2 separate regions of the Homo sapiens genome follow, and region 1 is linked to region 2. The links are contacts of gene promoters, found by promoter capture Hi-C in blood cells and fetal thymus (Javierre and others, 2016). All regions are on one chromosome and are shown on one strand. The core of a region is centred on a gene start or on the middle of the fragment in contact, and the rest is flanking DNA. Distances in the headings are between cores, read along the strand shown.

Evidence for each region. The method cuts DNA at HindIII sites, captures the fragments that hold promoters and counts their contacts. A CHiCAGO score of 5 or more calls a contact.
Region 1: a fragment that was not itself captured here is called in contact with the fragment with the promoter of DCTN4 in region 2 in 1 of 17 cell types (fetal thymus); the score reaches 5.2 in fetal thymus.

Annotation. Positions count from the first base shown.
Region 1 is chr5:150,656,822-150,660,132 of GRCh38, reverse strand. SYNPO (synaptopodin) reads right to left here. Exons shown (of 3, transcript NM_007286.6): 3 at 926-3,311. The coding sequence ends at 3,046. Among named protein-coding and RNA genes, the nearest start is that of MYOZ3, 2.8 kb to the left of the region's middle. The HindIII fragment of the contact is 2,529 bases long and covers 366-2,894 here.
Region 2 is chr5:150,757,536-150,760,844 of GRCh38, reverse strand. It overlaps DCTN4 (dynactin subunit 4), which reads left to right and starts at 1,828. Exons shown (of 13, transcript NM_016221.4): 1 at 1,828-1,986. The coding sequence starts at 1,852. RefSeq lists enhancers at 1,753-2,052, 2,483-2,552. The HindIII fragment of the contact is 18,997 bases long and covers 1-2,715 here.

The sequences.
Region 1 (3,311 bases), core at 381-2,880, 100 kb after region 2:
AGGAGCAGGAGGGGTGGGGGCAGACACTGAGGTCAGTTTTGGATGAACTTTGAGGTGTCGGGGGACTGGGATGAGATCACCAGTAGGCAATGGGACACTGTGCTGCAGTGAGGCCCCAGCCGAAGATAAAGATTGGGTCCAAGGCACACACTCCTGGGGAAGGGTGGGCCTAGCAAGGATGGGCTGGGTGCAGGGTGGGGACCACCGGTGTCTGTGTGCTGGCAGACTATCCTGGGGTGTATTTCTGACACCTCTCAAATCAGAAGCCTAGATTCTGCTGTCCACCACCCTGACCTTAGCTTCCTGGCCCTCGGTGGGCCTGAGCTTCTAGAGAGGAAGAGTGAGGTGTGTTCCCAGGGCAAGCTTAGCCTCACCTGGGAGCAGGATCACAATCCCCTTCTCTGGCCAAAGGACACTCCTGCCAGGAGAGGATGCCTCATGGCCCGAGTCCTTGCCTCACTGGGGCTGCCTGGCTCAGACGGGACCTCTTACAGTGGCGCCTTTCCTGCCCTGGCACCCCCACCTGCCATGAGGAAACAGCCTCAGAGCACAGAGCCCTGACCCAGCTTGGCCCTGCCCACTCTGGTGATAGTGCTCTGTGGTCAGGGCCTGGACAATACCACCCTGAGACATTACCTAGACCCACTCTCCCCATTATACGGATGGGGAAGCTGAGGCCTAGAGAAGGAGTGGGCTCACCCAGGGTCACCCCGCTCGTCCATGACAGGACCAGGACTGCAGTCCAGGTACTTCTATGGCCTCAAGTTGTCCGTTGTTCCCATCTCTCCCCATGGCTGCTTCTTCCCAAGCTCCCATCCCATATGTCTCAAATATTCCCAGCCACCCAGAGTCCCATGGACTGCTCCATGCTTGGGGAGAAGGGAAGGACATCAGACACAGCTGAAAATGACACAGGAGGCAGAAGAATGCAGGAAGCATTTATTGAGGGCCAGAGCTGCATTCTACAAGAGGCAAGAGGCAGGACACAGGCAATCTCTAGTGGGTTAGAGGAGAGGTTGGGGAGAGGGCAGTGACAATGAGAGAACAGCCAGGCGCTGGCTTGGGAACTGCCGGTTTCTCAAGGCTGCCTCCTGCTAGTCCTCTGGGAAATGCAGGTAGAAATGGATCCTCTATGCTACTGCCTCAGCCAGAGGCCTGATGGTGTCCCTTCCCTGGGAGGGGCCCTTAGCCCCAGTCTCCTGTGCTACAAGGGACCCAGCAGCAGGTAGGGGCTTTGGTAAATATAGTCACTCATCATTAACTGAGTAAGAGCACCTTCTCATCTTCACAGCAGCAGGAGCATTCCTGAGGCCCAAGGAGCCCTCTAAGGTCACTCTTTCATTCCAAAGCACCCTGTCCCAACCCTATCTTCCATACTGACCTTAACTCCCTCCAGCCTCACTTGGGGGTTCCAGATCTAACATCACCCCGGTAAGTCCCAAACCCAAACTGTCCCTCACCTTTAGCAACATCCTGGTATCCTTTCACCTACATACGTTTGATCCTCAGCCAATTCCATACCCCCAGCTGATCCTGAAGCTAATATTCTGAACCTCTAGAAGGCTCTACCAGCCAACTCTGGAAACTACAGAACTCAGCCATATTCCTCCCTGAGTCCCCCCTGGGGACCTGAATCACAGCCACCAAGGTTTAGGGAACCAGTGAGGGCCTGCAGCCAGGCTCCCCCAGGTCACTGGGCACCAGGCACTAGCTAGGTCAGAGTGCACTGGGGAAGGGATGGGGCAGGATAATGTCTACTTTTCTGGGCACGATATGGACACTGGGACTGAGGTCTGACACTGAAGAAGGGGACATTTCCAAGGGGACCAGAAATACAGGCAGACCCTAACTTAACACCCTGCTCACGTACCCAAGCTCATCGGCCCCTAAATTCAAGCCCAACTAGCCCACCACCACCACCCACCCCCGACTTCCTAATATCATGGAATGCATTTCAAGACTGGAAGAGCCCTCAGGGGTCATCTGAGCCAATCCTGTCCCCTGCTAGAATCTCCTCTATGCATCCTGGCCATGCTTTTCATATTTCCCGTAACAAGTAACTCTTTGTCTCTCTCTTTCCCAATAAGCAACCCCAAACTGAGGGCAATCAGGTAAAGTCACATGGTAGCTCTGTATCTCTTCTCTCCCCAGTTCAGCTTTGAGCCCAGAACCTGCCATGAATGGGCCCAGAAGGAACAGATGAGCTGGAGGCCCAAGTCCTGGGCCTAAGGGAAATCACTGCCTTATAATTCTCTTATGGCTGCAGATAAGATGTCCTGGACAGTCTGAACTGGGATGGAGAAAGTAGCATGACAGGGACCCGGGGAGAATTTTCCTGCCTCTTCCCTCCAGAGGGGATAGTGGGACACCTTGAGCTGGCCTGGGAGACCTCTCTAAAGGTCATTGTGATAAAAATAGAGCTTGTCTGGGAAGGGATGGAAAACAGCTGCTCCTGCCTGGGACTTGGTGCCAGGGAGCCGGATGGTCAGGCCAGTGCCTGGACATGCGACACAGGCCTAGGACCTTCTGAACACACCCCGCTTGCCAGACTCCAGACAGCAGAGCCAGGAGGGGAGGGACGAGTATGGAACCCTGAAGGTAGCAAGTCCAGGGGTCCATATACACACTGCCCCGCCTCATCCAAGGCACTAACTAGTGTGTGTGTGTGTGTGTGTGTGTGTGTGTGTGTGTGTGTGTGTGAGAGAGAGAGAGAGAGAAAGAGAGAGTGTGTGTGCATCGGTGTGTGTACTGATGGGAAGGGGAATTTTGACGTTTGTGGATTGCCTTGGCCAAAGCCACCATTAAACAGATGGGAAAGCTGAGGGTCAAACAAGGAAGGGTCTTACCCAGGGTCACACAACAGCTGAATGAGAGCAAGGGCTAGAACTCAAGCTTGCGTCCCTAACCCATCCCCAACCCCAGAGCTCTCCTCTGCTGACCCCTCATCTCTGGGGCTGCCCAAAGAGGCCAGACCCTTTGGGTCCCCCAGGTCTAATGAGCCTTCTTCTGGCTCTGCCCTCCCGGGGTGGGGTCGGGGGTGGGGCTCTAGGTGGTGCAGGAGGCCTCGGCGGGGAGGCTGCCACGCTTGAGCCGAAGGCTGCCATTCCACCCGCGGGGACAGATATTGTAGCCCAGGATGCCTGGAGACTTAGCCCCGGAGTCCTCGGAGTCGAGGGACACGTCGGAGTCCGTGGGCGAGCGGCGGTAGAGGAAGGGCCTGGGAGGCGCGGGCAGCGGGCTCCGGGGACTGGTGCAGGACGAAGGACCGGCGGGCAACGGGCTCCGCGGGATGGGCGCGAAGGCTGCCCCCG
Region 2 (3,309 bases), core at 579-3,078:
ACTTAATTATTTAAAATCAGTGCTCTAAAAAGTGTCTGTTTTATGTGGATTCAGCTCAAGTCTCCAGCCTTTCTGTACCTGCAGGCTCTGGGACTTCATTTTAACAGCATAGTCCAGAAAAGGGAATTTAAACTCAGTAGAGACTAGTTTATAAACCAGAAAACCAACGAATTCATTAACCTAAAGAAATAATTGCAAATGAGTTGGCTAGTAATATATTCTCTCCTAGGAGCAGATGTCACCTATGAAACTAAATTAGTGCCAGGCTATTGCTTGGTGAACAAGTAATGACTTTTAGGCTCAATTGGTAAAGCGTGACATAAATTGTGAGATTAGCACTGTATAAGCTGAAAAGGTCTATATAAATGTAAGGTATTATTAACATCACCATATTAGAAAATATGCTGGAGGGAGTATACATAGGGGTTATACCTGCAAGCACTAGAGTCAGAGAGAAAAGGGTTCTACCTCCATCTATGAAACCTTATAGAGGAGTCACTGCACTTCCCTGTGCCTCAGTTTCCTGCTCTGTAAAATAGAAATAATGATAGCCACATGCTTTTTGGAGCTGTTGTAAGAATTAAATTAGACAATGTATGTAAAGTTTTGACACAGTGTGCTGCACTTAATAAGTGCTCAATAAATGTTTGCTAATAGTATTCAGTTCCCTTTCTTCTCAATCACCAACTCTAACGTCAGACAGGTAATAATACAACACTACTACAATTATAAAAATGTAGACCTGGTGGCAGGCAACAGAGGCTCCAGTTTCTGCTAGGCAGTTCTAGGTGGTCATTTTACATACTGGGGAGTCCCAGTTAGAGAAAGGGAGTCAGGCTAGTGGGACCAAGGGATAGCAAGAAGAGCAGATGCACTCTAAGTCTGCCTTTCTTCATGGTGCAGGACACGTAGCCCTCCTGTGCAAATAACTCACAATCTTCCTGCACTCAGCTATCACGAGACACATGCAAGTTAGCTCCCTGTAACCTTGGAGTTCTCGGTACTGCACAGCACTCTGCAGCCCAAGAACCATCGGATAAAATCTCCAGCAAGCCTTTGTTTCCTTGAAGTCAGCTCCTCTCTGGCTGGTCTGCCCATTGCAACCTTTCAACGTATTTTCATACCTTCTCTAATAAATCTGCATTTCTTTACCTAAAACTGTTGATAAATTATTTTCCCACCCATGTAATACCAGTCTCACGTAGTCGCTGCTCACCCAAGAGGCAGACCTGAGCCTTAGTTTACACATTAGAAAAACGTAGACGCCTACCAACATTGTTCATTCATTGATTTCATTCCCTCCTTTTCATACTTATTGAAGGTCCACAATACAGACTTAGACCTAACGCTAACTATGTACTCAAAAACCTGCGTTTCAAATGAGATAATGTATGTGAAAGTTCCCAAAGGCCATTGGCAAGACTCAGAAGACAGTGCTGGTGTGACTCCTGTCTTGCAGTCCCCACGGAGCCCTGTCCCTTTGAGACCTTCCATTTGTCTCCTGGATGCTCGCCTGTTAAGTGGGGCAGAGGAGGCCGTCGTAAATAAGACAAAAGATCAGGCTTCCATTCTGGAAGAAAAGAATAAAAGGAGCTCACTGAGTCCAGACCTAATGGCAGTAAGGGCAGTGGACGCTCACAAAAGCGCTGGGGGACGGGCCCAGAGTTGGGGAGAAAACAGGGATCCCAGCTGCGCACGCGCGCTCTGGTTTTCGACGGGCGCAGAGCCGGACGAGGTGGGAAACCTAACGTCAAAGTCTACGTAGGAAGTCGTAGGGAAGGCAGCGAGGAAGACGCTGGCTCTCGGGTCACGTGATGCGCCGGGAGCGTCATCGCCTCCTCCCTCCCCAAGATGGCGTCCTTGCTGCAGTCGGACCGGGTTCTCTATCTAGTCCAGGGAGAAAAGAAGGTTCGGGCCCCGCTCTCGCAACTCTACTTCTGCCGCTATTGTAGCGAACTGCGGTCGCTGGAATGTGTGTCTCACGAGGTAACAGAGTCGCCCTATAGCGAGTATGTGGGGTGGGGGGGGCGCGGCGTTCATGCTAGTCACTGCCACCGGAAGGCTGGAGCTATTTTCCTTCCTTACTGATTGGTTATGTCTTCCGTCACTCGGGTTTGCCTGCGATTTAATTTGCTTCTAATCTGTCACTTGGAAAGGAGGAGCAGCCTCGGGTGGGACTGAGCGGATCTTCTGGTTCTAGAGCGGCCTCTGATTGGACAAACTTGACTTAGGGACCGTGTCTGTCTGCGATGGGGCTTGGTAATTGGGTGGACTACGGAGAAAGGTCTGGGGGTGCTTAGTTCAGGCCACTTAAGGGGCGAAAAACTGCCTTTCCAGGATTTATTGCGAGGATGGAGGGAGGCGCAGGCGTTCTCATTCATAGTTCTCCCATCCTGAAAGTTCTGTTCCTCTTTTGTCCAGAAACTGGGCCCTCGTCAGACTGCCTTGCCCTGTTCCTGACTCAGGCCAAGGCCTGCAGCCGGGAAGAGGTTGGGGCGGCGTGAGTTATGTGAAAAGCGCTCAGAATACAGTATGTCATGTAAGAAGCTGAAAGTGTATTTATGGAGCTAGAGGACAATGCTGTCCTTCCCTGGCACAAGTGGGCGTCCGAAGTTGGATTTTTCAAAAAGAAGACCCCGGCCAGTAAAAAGTCACCAAATAACAAAACCCCAAAACTTCTGCAGCGCTTGGCACATCTTGTTTATTCAGTAAGCTTTAGGGATTAAAAGGCGAGTAAGACATAAAATGCGCTGTTTAATAAGCCATAGTCTTAGTGAAGAAAAAGCTGATAGTAGTAATAGTTGCTGCTTATTCGATACTTGCTATATGTCATGTGCTTTATGTAATCTTCAAACCAATTTAAGTGGATACTTTTTTTAAAAAATTTTTTTTACAGGTAAAGAAACAGATACAGAGTGTTCGCTGTAAGTCACACAGCCAGTAATTTGGGGGTGGGAAGGAGGACCTGGATTTGAATCTAAACAGCCTAACTCAGAGTGTTTTTTACTGAAGATCCCGGGACTGTTAAAATAAATGCATATGAAAACACATACTATAAGCCATTTTATGTGTTATTAATAACTTATTTTATTGAAGATACTTTTCATAATAGGAATAGTCAAGAAAAGCAATTAAATAATACAAGAAAAATCGTATATATTAAAAATATGGCATCGATTTTTCTTCTCATCTCCATTAGCACTTTCCTTATGTGTATCTCCTTGATGATTCCCTATTCCAGCTCCACCTCCAGAATTTATTGGATCATATTCTCCTGTGGTGAATAGAGTGCTCAGTCTCCATGATCTG